Regions from separate parts of the Homo sapiens genome. Here region 2 is linked to region 1. The links are contacts of gene promoters, found by promoter capture Hi-C in blood cells and fetal thymus (Javierre and others, 2016). All regions are on one chromosome and are shown on one strand. The core of a region is centred on a gene start or on the middle of the fragment in contact, and the rest is flanking DNA. Distances in the headings are between cores, read along the strand shown. Region 1 holds the start of QRFPR (pyroglutamylated RFamide peptide receptor). Region 2 has its middle 28 kb from the start of PP12613.

Evidence for each region. Contacts are between HindIII fragments. The CHiCAGO score rates a contact against its expected background, and 5 or more counts as called.
Region 2: a fragment that was not itself captured here is called in contact with the fragment with the promoter of QRFPR in region 1 in 2 of 17 cell types (M1 macrophages and M2 macrophages); the score reaches 7.2 in M1 macrophages.

The regions. Positions count from the first base shown.
Region 1 is chr4:121,377,471-121,384,924 of GRCh38, reverse strand. QRFPR (pyroglutamylated RFamide peptide receptor) reads left to right here and starts at 3,907. Exons shown (of 6, transcript NM_198179.3): 1 at 3,907-4,617. The coding sequence starts at 4,278. RefSeq lists an enhancer at 3,337-4,121. The HindIII fragment of the contact is 7,115 bases long and covers 1-4,922 here.
Region 2 is chr4:121,733,224-121,740,677 of GRCh38, reverse strand. No RefSeq gene overlaps it. Among named protein-coding and RNA genes, the nearest start is that of PP12613, 28 kb to the left of the region's middle. The HindIII fragment of the contact is 1,543 bases long and covers 3,736-5,278 here.

The DNA of each region.
Region 1 (7,454 bases), core at 2,658-5,157:
AATGCTCTTTGACCAAAAGGGAGTCAAACTAGAAAACAGAAAAATAGCAGAAAAATGTTCAAACACTTGGAAACTAAATAAGACATTTCTAAATAATCCGTGGGTCAAAAAAGACATTTAAAAGGAAATTAAAGAGTACATTGAACTGAATGAAAATGTAAATATAACACATAAAACATGTGGGACACAGTTAAGCCAGTGCTGAGAGGGAAATTTATGGCACTAAATGCTTACATTAGGAAAGAGAAAAAGTTCCAAGTCAATAATTAAAGTTTCCACCTCAAGAAACTAGAAAAAGAGTAGCAAAATAAACTGAAAGCAGGTAGAAGGAAGAAAATAATAAGGATAAGAGCAGATGTCAATAAAATTCAAGAGAAAATAATAGAGAAAATAATAGAGAAGTTGTTAGCTAAGAATTGTTTCTTTGTAACTAGCAATAAAATAGCCAAACCTCTAACTAGATTGACAAAAGAGAGAGAGAAGGCAAAAATTATAAAATCAGGAATGAGACAGGGGATACTCTTCAGCCATACAAAGGATATTAAGAGAATACTATTAACAACTCTACACACATAAATTCAAAAGAAATTTATCAATTCTTAAAAAAACTCACCCAATATGGAATAGATAATTTGAATATCACTATACTATTAACAAAATTAAATCCATCATTTAGGAACACCTGTAAAGGAACTCTTCATGCCCACATGGCTTCATTAGAGAATACTACCAAACATTTAAAGAAGAATTAATACCATTTCTACCAAACATTTAAAGAAGAATTAATACCATTTCTACACAGTCTTTTCCAGAAAATAGAAAAGGAGAGAATGCTTCTCAATTCATTCTATGATGCTATTATTACCTGACTGCCAAAACCAGGATAAAAAATACAAAAAGAAAAAAAAGTTACAGACCAATAGCCCTCATGAAGATATACATAAAATTCTTTAAAATCCTAACTAATAGAATTTAACAATATATATAAAGAATTACACACCACGACTAAGATGGGGTTTATTTCAAATATTCAAAGCTGATTCAATATTCAAAAGTCAATCAATGCAATTCACCATTTTAACAGGCTGAAGAAAAAAATCACATTGATAGTATTAATTGATGCAGAAAAATCATTTAACAAAATTTAACACCATTGATAGAATCTCTCAAGAAGTTGAGAATAGACAGTAACCTTCTCAAGTTGATAAAGAACATCTGCAACTAACATCATACTTAATGGTGAAAGAAGGCTGAATACATCCTTATAAGATTGAGGACAAGACAAGGATGATCTCCATTCTCCATTGCCATTTAACATAGTAAACTGTGTACTCCAACCATTGCAGTTAGGCAAAAAATAAAAAAAAAAAAAAACAAAAGAAAACAAAAACAACAACCAAACAAACAACAGCTAAAACCAGAAATAAAGAGCATACAAATCAGAAAGGAAGAAATAAAACTGTCTTTCTTCTCAGATAATGTGATTGTCTATGCAAGAAATCTACCAAAAAACCCTCTGTATTAGTCCATTTTCACACTGCTGATAAAGACATACCCAAGACTGGGCAATTTACAAAAGAAAGAGGTTTACTGGATTTACAGTCCCACATGGCTGGGAAGACCTCACAATCAAGGTGGAAGGCAAGGAGGAATAGGTCACATCTTACATAGATGGCAGCAGGCAAAGAGAGAACTTGTGCAGAGAAACTGCTGTTTTTAAAACCATCAGATCTCATGAGACCCATTCACTATCATGAGAACATCGTGGAAAGACCCACCCCCATGATTCAATCATCTCCCACTGGTCCCTCCCACAACACATGGGAATTATGGGAGCTACAAGATGAGATTTGGGTGGGGACACAGAGCCAAATCATATCAACCTCCTAATAAAATTAAGTGAATTCATCAACATTGGAGGAATCAAGATCAACATACGAAATAAATTGGATTTCTGCATACTAGTAATGAACACATGGAACCAAAAATTAGAAATTCAGTACAGTACCGTGTACAAATGTCCGCCCAAAATGAAATACTTAGGTGCAAATCTAAAAATATGTACAGGACTTACATGCTGAAAACTGTAAAATGCCTTTGAAATAAATCAAAGATGTAAATTTATGGAAAGACATTCTTCTCATGGATTGAAAAACTCAACCTAGTAAATATGTCAATTTCTATCAAAATCCCAGCAAGGTTTTTTGTAGACATAGACAAGTTGATTGTAAAATGTATATGAATAGGCACAGGTCCTAGAATAGTTACAATAATTTTGAAAAATAAGAATGAAGTATGAGAAATCATGCTACCTGATTTCAAAACTTATTATATAGCTACAGTAGTCAAGAATGTGGAGGATAGACACATAGATCAATTCAACAGAATAGAGAGCCCAAAACATAAAATGTAAAACTATAACACTTTTAGAAAAATACCTAAGAGAAAGTTTTTGAGAAATAGGCTTTGGTGAAGTTAGACTGAACACTAAAAGCTATCTATAAAAGAAAATATTGATAAATATGACTTCACTAAAACTAAAAGCTGTTCTGTGAAAGTCCCTGTTAAGAAGATAAATAACAAGCTACAGACTGGAAGAACATATTTGCAAACCGTTTACTAACAAAGGACTTGTATGTAGAATATAAAAAGAACTTTCAACAGCAAATAAACTAAACCATGCAATTAGAAACGGACAAAACACATGGAAAGACATTTCACCAAAGAAGATTCAAGGACGGCAAATAAGCACATGAGATGTTCAATATTACTTGCCATTAGGTAAATGTAAATTAAGGCCCTAAAGAGATATCACTACAGATCTATTAGAATAGCTTAAAAAAAAAAAGCAGCAAAACCAAATGCTGGCAAGGATGTGGAGAAACGTAACTTCTCATGCATTGATGGTAGAGATGGAGACTTGTACAGCCACTCTGAAAAGTAGTCAATCTCTTTAAAAATTAAATATACACATTACAGATTCAATAATCAAAACTTTTGGCATTTCCTATAGAAAGGAAAACTATGTTCACACAAAAACCTGTACATGATTCTTTATAGCAGCTTTATTTTTAATAGCTCAAAATGGTAATCAACCAAAATGTTCTACAAGAGGTGGATGGTTAAATAAACGGTGATACAGCCTCAGCAATAAAAAGAAACAGCCATTAATACATGCAACAACTTGGATGGATTTAAAGGGCATTAGGCTGAGCGAAGAAAATTCAATATCAAAAGGCAGCATATTGTATGATTTCCCTTACGTAATGTTCTGACAAAAGTTAAGAGAGAACATATTAGTGGTTGCCAGGAGTTAGAGATGGTGGAGGGAGGGGCTAGGTGTGAGTATAAAAAGCACCAGGGAGATTTTTGTGGTGATAGAAGAGTTTGTATCCTGACGGTTACGGGAATCTACACTTGAGATAAAAACATGCAAACACTGTACCTGTGTCAAATTCCTGGTTTTGTATTGTTCCGTAGTTAAATAAGATGTAATGAATGAAAGAAACTGGGTGAAGGGTGGGTACGCAGGATCTTTCTGTATTATCTTTGCCATTTCCCAAGTTCTATATTTTAACTATCTTAATTATTTTTCAATACAGAAAATAATTTAAAATAAGCCCTATTTGCCTTGGGTAGTTGTGGCTCCCATTATTACGCAAGAGGAGAAACTTGAAACTGTGGAACCCCCCAATACCCAGTTTCACATACAAGCATTACCTGACTGGGGCCATGCCCTGAGAAAGGCGCTGGGCGGCAGCAAGTTGGTGAGCCAGGGAAGTCTTCCCTCGCCCTGAGGGTGCGGGGAAGCGGCGTTGGCGCCACTGAAGCTGGGTGTGAGGGAGGCGTCACCGAGTTCAGCCCCACCCTCCACCGCTCCCCAAGCGGGTCCGGCGTCCGCATCGCATGGCCAGAAGGCGGGGAGCCAGAGGCGCCAGGACCCTCGCGTGGCGCTCCAGCACCCCAGACCGTGGCGGCGCCTCGCCTTAGGGAAGAGCAAGGGAAGAACTTTATTTGAACCGCGAACATTTTTTGGTCACTGAGATCGAGTCTCCCAGTGCTTTGGCTTCCCGCCTCTTTATCGTGGGTTTGATCCCTGAGCTGCTCTCCTTTCCCGAACCTCCCGGGGTGCAGCCTAGAGCCCTCCCGCGCGGCTGACTCCAGAGTAGAGGAAGGGAGGCGGCCTCCGGCTGGTCCCCCGAAGCCCTCGCTGCCCCGCAGATGCGGATGGCCAGCCAGTAGCGGGCGGTGGCCCCGCGTCCCGGGAGCGCACAGCAATGCAGGCGCTTAACATTACCCCGGAGCAGTTCTCTCGGCTGCTGCGGGACCACAACCTGACGCGGGAGCAGTTCATCGCTCTGTACCGGCTGCGACCGCTCGTCTACACCCCAGAGCTGCCGGGACGCGCCAAGCTGGCCCTCGTGCTCACCGGCGTGCTCATCTTCGCCCTGGCGCTCTTTGGCAATGCTCTGGTGTTCTACGTGGTGACCCGCAGCAAGGCCATGCGCACCGTCACCAACATCTTTATCTGCTCCTTGGCGCTCAGTGACCTGCTCATCACCTTCTTCTGCATTCCCGTCACCATGCTCCAGAACATTTCCGACAACTGGCTGGGGGGTAAGAGTCGCGCCCCGCTCCTTCGCTCCTTCTCTCTTAACCCTCTGCCTTTCAGGGGATCTCTCTCTCTCTCTCTCTCTCTCTCTCTCTCTCTCTCTCTCTCTCTCTCTCTCTCTCTCTCCTCTCTCGTCTGTCTGTCTCTCTCTCGTCTGTCTCTTCCTTACACTTCTCTGTCAAATGAATCCGGTGCTCTTTCTTAGAACTTCGCCACCTGTGTTCACCTGGACATAAGTTCTTTTGGCCGCCTCTGATTCCCCTCCAGTGCTTCCTCCTTGTGGCTTAGAGACATAGGTTGGGGAAAAGCTTCGGAAAGGTCCCGAGCAGTGAGGCAGGAAGTCGCACCCCTCGCCACTTATTTCAGCTCCCTTTCCCGTCATTACCAGGTTTTTCTCCCCTAGTTTTCTTACTAAAAGTGAGATAAAAATATTTCAAATAATTAAACCAAAGTTAAAAATCTCATTTCCTCATTCCCCCACCCTCCAGCCTCACTTCCCAGTTGCTTGCAGACAGCTTCTTGTACCTATGAGCATAAAACAAATATAATTCATGTGCAGAAAAAATATATTGAACTAGTCCTTTTAAAAACTGTATTAAGTGTCATGCAGGAAGAAGGAACACAGAAAACTGATGCCCTCCTATTATAAAAGAAGAGATAACATTCTCCTCCTTCCGTATAATGGGGGAAAAAAAATGACAGAGGAGAGGTGGAGTCACTGAGTTGGGAGCAGTGTGTGGAGGTTGGAAAAAAAGATATATTTCTTGAGATGATCCAGCTTTTCCAAGAACACAGCTGGAGAATGCCCTGGTGTAAACCCAGGAGCAGTAGTGTGTTGTATTCTCACCAGTGCTTAAGGTGCACCATGGGCCTCCCCTTTTTCACGGTTGGGTGTATTCTTGTGGCCACATCAAAATGGTTAGAAATGTAAGAGAAATAGATCATTATGCCTTCAATCTCTGCTATTTCTATCCCATTACTAATTCTCTTAAACTCATGGAGGGTGTTTCATCCTACCATTACCAATTTGAGATCGTGAGCATTGCTTTTTTTCTCATTAGCTTAAACTGAGTTTGCTGTTAGTCAGTCAGAATGTTAAAGTCCTTGATTCTTATCAATCTATAATGTAAATATTTTCAAAAAAGCATTAAACATTGAGTACAGAGCATTGACTTGAAAGTAATACACAATGTGGAAAGTAAGACCTTGATTTATGGATTAGAGACTTTCTTATGCACTCTGATGCAGTAATTGTATTTGGGCATTTTAAAGTTGCTCAGTGCAACTAACTCCATAAAATTAATGGGGTATTTTTTGATCATCATACGGAACTTGGTTTTTGGGGAAAAGCACATGAGTTTTCATTTCTAAATGTTTGTGAAAGCAGATTTATGAGGCTTCTTTGTGCTGGGGATGATTATAGCTCCATTTGTAAAGGTGAAAATAATTATGCAAAGTGGGATTTTATGGTGGGGATCAAAAGAACTGGATTACTATTTTGGCTGTAATACATGTTAATTTAGTATGTCTGGGTCTCAATTTTTCAGTAAAATATTAGGGATTAGAGAAGTTTGAAAGTGCAGTGAGTCTGGCCAGGCGTGGTGGCTCACGCCTGTAATCCCAACACTTTGGGAGGCCGAGGCGGGCGGATCACGAGGTCATGAGATCGAGACCATTCTGGCTAACACGGTGAAACCCCGTCTCTACTAAAAATACAAACAACAACAAAAAATTAGCCGGGCATCGTGGCACGCACCTATAGTCCCAGCTGCTCAGGAGGTTGAGGCAGGAGACTTGGCTTGACCCCGGGAGGCAGAGGTTGTAGTGAGCCGAGATCACGCTACTGCACTCCAACCTGGGTGACAGAGCAAGACTCCGTCTCAAAAAAAAAAAAAAAAAAAAAAAGTGCAGTGAGCCAGATCTTTAGCTCCAGTTCATGTTGGGGAATCATGGCCAAGAAAGGCCATATGGTGCATCTTCCATCCTCAGGGCTTATTTGGGCACTGCCAAGGTTTTTCTCAAGTTTTCTTTTCTCCCTGCTTCTTACTTCATGGAGAACATTTCACTTTAGCTTCTAAATACTGAAGGAGAGTAATATATTGCTCATTTATTTTATAGGGTTAGTGTGAGAATAAAGTGTGTTAGTAAAAGTGCTTTGAAAAATATTGGTCATGCCATGAAAGTATAAGGTATTAATTCTATTAAGGGGTGTTTAATTGGAGGTGGCCTATGTTTATCTGGGACCAGATTTATAGAATAAATAATGATCTTATAAATTGAGTAAATAATACCAAAATTGAAGTGCGAGGGAGAGGTGAGAGCATGCAGAGGGGCTAGAGATCAATATGAAAATAGAATTAACTTGCGCATTATAGGACAGGATAATCATGGCAAAATTTCCTTGATAAATTAACCAAAGTTCAAGAGAATGTAATCTAAGAGCCAAAAATTAATTCATAATTTATTATTTTACAAAGCTATTGAGGATCTCCTATCTGGAAAAGTGTTCTACCTTGAGAGTACAAAAGTGAGTAAAGTCTATCTGTGCCCTTCAGGACCTCAGAGAATAGGAGATGGCCCCAAAATGAGCAAAAACAGGATTTGATAGAAAAAGGATCCACTTTGCTCTACGAGCACAGAAGAGTCAGGAAGGCTTCCTGAAGGATGTGATGTTCAAGCTGGGTCTGGAAGAATAATTCAGAGAATAATTTAGACTCTTTCCAGCAGAGGATGGAGTGTGTTCTAGGAATAGGGGTCAGTGCCAAGTTGGAGGGAAGAAAGAAGATGGTGTGTTCCAAGAATACCGTGCAAGGCATTGCAAGAATGCACAGGTTATATGTGG
Region 2 (7,454 bases), core at 3,258-5,757, 360 kb before region 1:
GATTTTAATTAAACCTCAACTTTCCAACTTGTAAAGAGATGTTAAAATCTTAGATTTCTAACCTTACTTATTATTTTTTTGCTTTATTGACATATAGTTGACAAATAAGGAAATGATAAAAATTTCTTCATACAGTTATCCCACATATTAACTCTCTTAGGCTGTTGTCGTAGGAAACTTGGCTAACTTTTTTGCCTTTTATGTCTTTATCTGGTTTCTGGCAAAATCATTGTTTAAGTTTGGGTCAGATATAGGCTTAGAACATGCCCATACTTCCTTCTAGGCTGTTTGACGTGGATTCATTTCTCAAGACACTTCGAGTTTAGTTTTCAGCTAGATATCAATCCACCTAACTGTTCTATCATCCACACCACATCTCCCCATCTTGTCAATAGAAAATCACGAAGTTTTGTCAGATACCAGGGGAAAACTACTTTTTACTATGCTTATGGCATTTCTTATTACGGCCCAAGAGAATCAGTTTATATTGCAGGAAGGCAATGGATGATGCCTTGCAGGGAGACAGAGAAAGCTGTGAACCCTTATGAAGATGGGGCCCTGGAAGTCTGAGTCGGACTGCCTCCACCATATGCAGTGTTCAAAGACAGGTGTTGAATTAGTGTACATTTTAGGCAGACTTATGTGGTGAAGCCTGAGAGTAGGTATCCAGGCAGTGGGTAGCATTGTACATCTGGATAATCAGTCCATTTACATTGGGTCAGAGGCCAGGACTAAAGGAAGCTGAACCTAGTGGACTAGAGCAAAGGATAAGCCTCTAGGACAAACTGGAATTAGAGAGCTAGGCAAAAAAAGTGAGTTAGAAGCCTTGTCATACGGTCTAGGCCAACATGGTGATGAATAGAAATAGGCTGTAAATCAGAATTTTACTCTGGGCTCACTGGGTGTCTGGTCAGTGACAGCAAGTCACTGATTCCAGATTCCTTATTGCCAACACAAACAGCCATGCTGAGATAGCTGGTGTACTTTCTAACCTGGTGGGCACAGTAGATTTTAGCCAGTCTTATCTACTGTGAAGAAACTGGAAATGATTGGCCTACATTTGGAATTTGATCTCCACTCCTACAAAATACAAAGTACGACTTAGTGGTTTTCAGATGGCTGCACTTCTAAATGCTCACAGACTCTATTTTTAAACATAGAATTTTGATATGGATTGACATTAAACTTGTTCTTTCATAATTTCCAGACTCCTCTCCTCACCCCAGCCCACTCTGTCTGCTTTTTGAAAAGAGGACCATTTGCCAGCCAGCCCCTAAACTTGTGGTTCTCACCCTGTTCTCCATGATTCCTCCACATTCCTTGCAGCTTTGACGCAAAACTGCCTTCACCAGCTGTGGCTTCTCAGAACCCACACAGAGGAAGGGAGGACATTTGGACAACAGATTTTCTAACAGCTGAAATAATCAATCAGTACTACATTTTGTCTCTGTGCCAGCTATTTCTCTGAATTAAACTGCATTATTTTATCTAATGCCTGCCCAGGATGCCTGTCTTACATGAATTTCACTTTTTTTCTCTCATTTTATTTGCAACTGAAATGATCTCACAATGATTGATTCCATTCTCTAGTATATGAATTTCTCTCACTCTCTGTTGGCTAGCTCTACTCTATTAGAGAGGCAGTGCTTAGATACTGGAGCCAGGCTGTTGCATTTAAATCCTAGATTGATCACGTGACTGCCTCTCTGTGCCTCAGTTTCCCCATCTGAAAAGGCAGATAATAATACTTGAGAAACACCTTGAACATATGTGACCATATGTGATGTATAGTTACTGATCATGTTACCTAGTGTTTCTGCTAGGTAAAGTAGTCTTCATCACTGCATTCTTACTTTTTTGTCCCATTTCACAATATCTTCTTTTGTTTGACACAGTATTCCTCTCCTTTTGCTAAAATTTTAAATTCATTAGATGTATTATGAATTAACCTTTACTTTGATAATCTATATAGATATCTGAAGTCATGGTATTGTTCCTAATCCACTTCCTTGTTTCTGCCAAGACTTATTAGTCTGCTCCTATGCTATTGTTCTTCCCATGTGATTCCTGGTATTCTTCATATGTGTACAGTTGTATCTGGGCATTTTTTCCTTCCCTGCAAATGTCAGGTTGGCACTTTTCTGCCGAATGTATTCTTTCCAGCTTATGCAAAAATAGTCCAGCCTCCACAAGAGTCCACTGTTCCAGAAATCCAAATTCACCCCTATCCATAAAGAAAGCCGGCTGGTTACTTCTCACATCCTCTTTAATCTTGCAAAGTCACAGACTTCTCTTGGAATGAAAGATGAAAACACACCCCATGCCCTGAGGTCCTTCAGCCTCCTGCTCAGAATTTCAGAATGCACACAGAGACATTTTGGAGAGTTCTGACTATATTCAGTAGGCTCAGATGAACCATTAAAAGTTAGTAGTAGTAGTAGGATTTGATCAATGTCAGCAGACTTTTTGACCTAACTAAAACATAATCAAGAGCCAAAAATCTATGAACACAGAGATAACGAGCATCTGAGTAGTTGAGAGGAGAGAGAAGCAATGCCAGGATCTAAATATTTCCAGCGCGAGCCCTCTGATGTTCATGGGGCCTGGAGGGTTCCACATTCATTATGTGTGTGAGGTTTCTGCCCAGCAAGGCTGCTGACATGAGGCAAAGCAGAGCCCTGGCGAGGATGTTTCTGGGGTCACCGCACATCTGCCTTCTCCAGCGTGTGTTCTGTGATGGACAGTAAAGGGTGAGACGGAATTGAAATGTTTTTCACATTCATTATACTTACACGTTTTCTTCTGTGTAGAGAGTCTCTGAATTATGATACATTTTTTTCAAAGCTATAATCCAAACTGGATTCTTTCTCTTGTAGGAATTTTATGACGTATAACAAGATCTGAGCTGCTCTCCATATTTGTTAAATTGCATTAACTTCATAGCCTCACTGATTTTTTTTTTCCTTTTTTTTTTTTTTTTTTTTGAGACGAGTCTCGCTCTGTTGCCCAGGTTGGAGTGCAGTGGCGCGATCTCGGCTCACTGCAGCCTCCACCTCCCGGGTTCAAGCGATTCTCCTGCCTCAGCCTCCCAAGTAGCTGGGACTACTACAGATGTGTGCCACCACATCTAGCTAATTTTTTGTATTTTTAGTAGAGATGGGGTTTCACCATGTAAGCCAGCATGGTCTTGATCTCCTGACCTCATGATCCACCTGCCTCAGCCTCCCAAAGTGCTGGGATTATAGGCGTGCACCACCACACCCAGCCTGTTTATTTTCTTACGTGAAACATCTGTACTAGAAGAGGGAATCTGCCTTTGGATATTCATCTCACCTCTCAGATCTGTGCTCAAACATCACAATTCTCCTTAAAAACAGGTTCTTGGGTAGTCTTTTGATTGTGTCCACTGGCACGCCCATTCATCTTGGATTAATGATAATAAAAGTGTGTAATTATATTAGATGTCTACCACATGGCAGGCCCTATGTTGATGTGAATTTAGCTCACTGAAGCCTGACCACAGCTCTGAGGAAGGTGCTATTATGCCGGCATCATTTTCCCTACAACTCCCTTTCTTTTCACACTTTGCACCCACAGCCCATGGTGTTGCCTATTAGCCCCCAGCCTTGGGCCCTTGAATCCAAGGTTAAGGGCTTGTGACCAGAGGACTCTGCAGCCTGAATTTGGGGAACACACTATCAGCCTGATCTGAACTCTTTATTCAGCATCTAAGCTTTTATGGCCACCAGGTGGGAGTATTGGGATTGGAAAGAACTGTCCAGAGACAATATCCAATGTGATTATGAACAAATCCACCTCCATACAGGTCACTTGTGATTTTAACGGGTGAAAATGCTTCGCAAAATCAAATCTAAACTTCTTTTGTAAAAGCACGTCTTAGCTATTTAATGACATCACAGTATCATGGGCATATCCACAAATTCTGCAAGTGGATCACTGGGAATGAGCATAAACAGGGTCATTTCTCCTTCCACCCCTTGATTCCAGGACCTGTGTATTCTGCCTACTGGGGACACAGCACCATATCAAATTCATTAGGTGGAGAGTGTTTACTGCATTCTGGAGGATGATGCTGTATCTTCCCACTGCTTTAGGTAGTGAAATGTGCTAATGAGAACATATAAAGCAGGGAAGAGCATAGGAAGTACAGGGGAGAATGACTAAAATTTTAGATAGGGTGGCCAGGGCTGGCCTCATTCAGAAGGTGACATTAGAATAAAGACCTAACAAAGAGAGAGAAATCTGGGGTAAGATCATTCCAGGCAACGTGAACAGAAACTGCAAAGACCCTGCGGTTCCTGGCATGTTTGATGAATAGCGAAGTGTTCAGTACGCCAAGGATGGAGTGAGGGAAGGGCAGAGTACTCGTAGAAGATGAGATCAGGTTGGTGACAGACAACCATATCAAGTAGGGTCTTAGAGGTCACTGTAAAATGTTTGCTTTTACTCTGAATTGAGAATCCATTGGGAAGTTTTGAGGAGAGAAGTGATATGATAGGACTTGTGCTTTAACAGAATCTTGATGGCATTATGTTGAGGATACACTGAATAGGGAAGGAGGAAGTTAATATACAAGTTGTGAGGCTGTTGCACAATGAGGCAAGAGATGATGATGGTTGAACTAAGATGGTGATAGTGGAGGTGGTGAGACTCACAAATCCAGAGCTTCCAGAGGTATCACTTACTATATGTTTAATGTCAGAGGGGCCTCTTGGAATTGTATAATGTGGCAGTACTGGGTAAGTCAAATTCTGGTTAGATTTTTTTTCTTTTAATATGGAGTCTTGCTCTGTTACCCAGGCTGGAGTGCAGTGCATGATCTCAGCTGACTACAACCTCTGCCTTCTGGGTTCAAGTGACTCTCCTGCCTCAGCCTTGCAAGTAGCTGAAACCACAAGTGCCCACCTCCATGCCCGGCTAATTTTTGTATTTGTAGTAGAGATAGAGTTTCACCATGTTGGCCAGGCTTGTCTCAAACTCCTAACCTCAAGTGATCTGCCCGCCTCGGCCTCCCAAAGTGCTGGGATTACAGGCGTGAGCCACCATACCCTACCCTCAGCTACATTTTGAGGCAGAGACAATCACATTTGCTGATGCAGAATGTGAAAGGAAGAGAGGTGTCAAAGATGACTCCAAGGTTTCTGGCCTGAGCCACTGGGAAGTTGAGGTTGCCATCAATTGAGATGGAGAAGACAATAAAAGGAGCAGACTGGGGGTGGAAGCAATAATAGAAACTCAGTTGTGGAAGCATTAAGCTTGAGTTCAGAATTCTACATTTGGGAGTCATTAACATATAGATGGCATTTGAAGCCATGAGAATGAATGAGACTGCTTAGCAAGTGAGGGTGGTGAGAATAAATGAGATAACCTAAAAAGTGAGTATGGGAAGGGGAAAAAAGATGCCAAGGACTAACCCTAATGCACTGCAACGTTCAGAGTGTGAGCAAATGGAGAGGACCCAGCAAAAGAGGTGAGGCAGGAGGTCAGAGAGGTGGGAATAAAGCAGGCCAGAGAGCTATCCTGGAAGCCAAGTGAAAGAAGTGCTTAAAGAAGAGACACAGAAGGAATGAGGTAGCCCGGCATAAGGTCTTAGAAATTTTTACAAGAGTTGCTTCCCTGGGCTGTTTGAATCAGATCCACATTCATCAACATTTAAGCTGATGCCAGTGGAGTATTAGAGAACACTCACCCTTGCAGCCCCCTGAATTTGGACAATAAAGTTCCAGCTTATCATTTGCAAGGACAGTCTGGTATTCTAGAGGAGGGACTACTGGGATAGAATACATTTCAAAGCATTCTATCATGGTTATAGTTCTTTCATTTCTAACTTTCTTAAAACACCTATTTTAACAAGTTGTTTTGGGCTCTTGCCTGGAAAGCTAAAAAAAGCGAGAAGCTGTCTGTTGCCTTAAGCTCCACAGCCTAGCACAGTACATGAGAAGAATGTGTGAATATACATTGCTATACATTGCTGGATTCATGATGTGGCACTGCTGAAGCCATGCTCAGAGGCAGCAGCAAAGAAAAAAACCCTGCAAATTCCATTTATTACCAATTGACTTTGAGAACCTGAATACTTTTCAGTTTTCTTAAATGAGACTTGAAGAGAGGGAAGTGTCACTAGGAATTATAAAACATAATTATTTTTGAAAGACAAAAACATTGAAATATGTTGCTATTAGTCACTTCAAGTAGAAATGTGAAAATCATTGCACTAGTCTGTTTCCTGTTGCTTAGAATACTTGAAGCTGGGTAATTTATAAAGAAGGAAATTTATTTCTTGAAGTTGGGTAATTTATAAAGAAGGAAATTTATTTCTTGAAGTTCTGGAGGCTGAGAAGTCCAAGGTTGAGGGGCTGCATCTGGTGAGGGCCTTCTTGCTGGTGGGGACTCTCTGCAGAGTCTTGAGGCAGCACGGGGCATCACATGGTGAGGGGGCTGAGCATGCTAACATGCTAACTCAGGTCTTTCCTCTTCTTATAAAGCCACTAGTTCCCCATCCCTGATAATCCATTAACCTATCAATGGATTAATAATTCATTCATGAGGGCAGAGCCCTTATGATTCAATCACCTCTTAATGGCCCCAACTTTCAATACTGCCACTTTGGGGATTAAGTTTCAACATGAGTTTTGGAGGGGACACTCAAATCATAGCAATCATTTTTTTAAAATGTAGCAAAAAACTACCCTTCTTGGTTTTAAAAAAAAGTAAGAATAAAATATTTGAAGAGAATATGGGTCAGTCCTCTTTTCAAATACTTCCTCCTGAATTGCAGTATCTTTAACAAATTCTATGTGATTTTGCTCATCTCAAACATATTTTAAGATCGGAGAAATATGGAAAAGGATTTAAGTAAATGAATATCCAAAGCAGTTTAAAGTAATTAAAATTTTCCTTTTCTATAAGAAAAATGTTTTTAAAATGTTTAATCTGTTCATTTCAAATTTAAATGTTATTCACGGAAAAGCTACTAAAAATTTTGTACCTCTGAGCAAATTTCTTTTTAAAGAAAACAAAAATTTTTGTTTTTTTACTTTTGAAAATCTCACTATGAATAAGCAACATTGTTAAGTAACTATCATTTATTTCTAGCATATTTTGGTTACACAGATTTATTTTATTTTCTTGAGACAGAGTCTCGCTGTGTGGCCCAGACTGGAGTGCAGCGGCACAATCTTGGCTCACTGCAACCTCCAGCTCCCGGGTTCAAGTGATCCTCCTGCCTCAGCCTCTTGAGTAGCTGCAAACATAGGCATGTGCCACCATGCCTGGCTAATTTTTGTATTTTTAGTAGAGACGGAGTTTCACCATTTTGGCCAGGCTGGTCTTGAACTTGTGACCACAAGTGATCAGCCCACTTCAGCTCACCAAAGTGCTGGGATTACAGGTGTGAGCTATCTCGGCTGGCCTGGTCACACAGATATTTATGA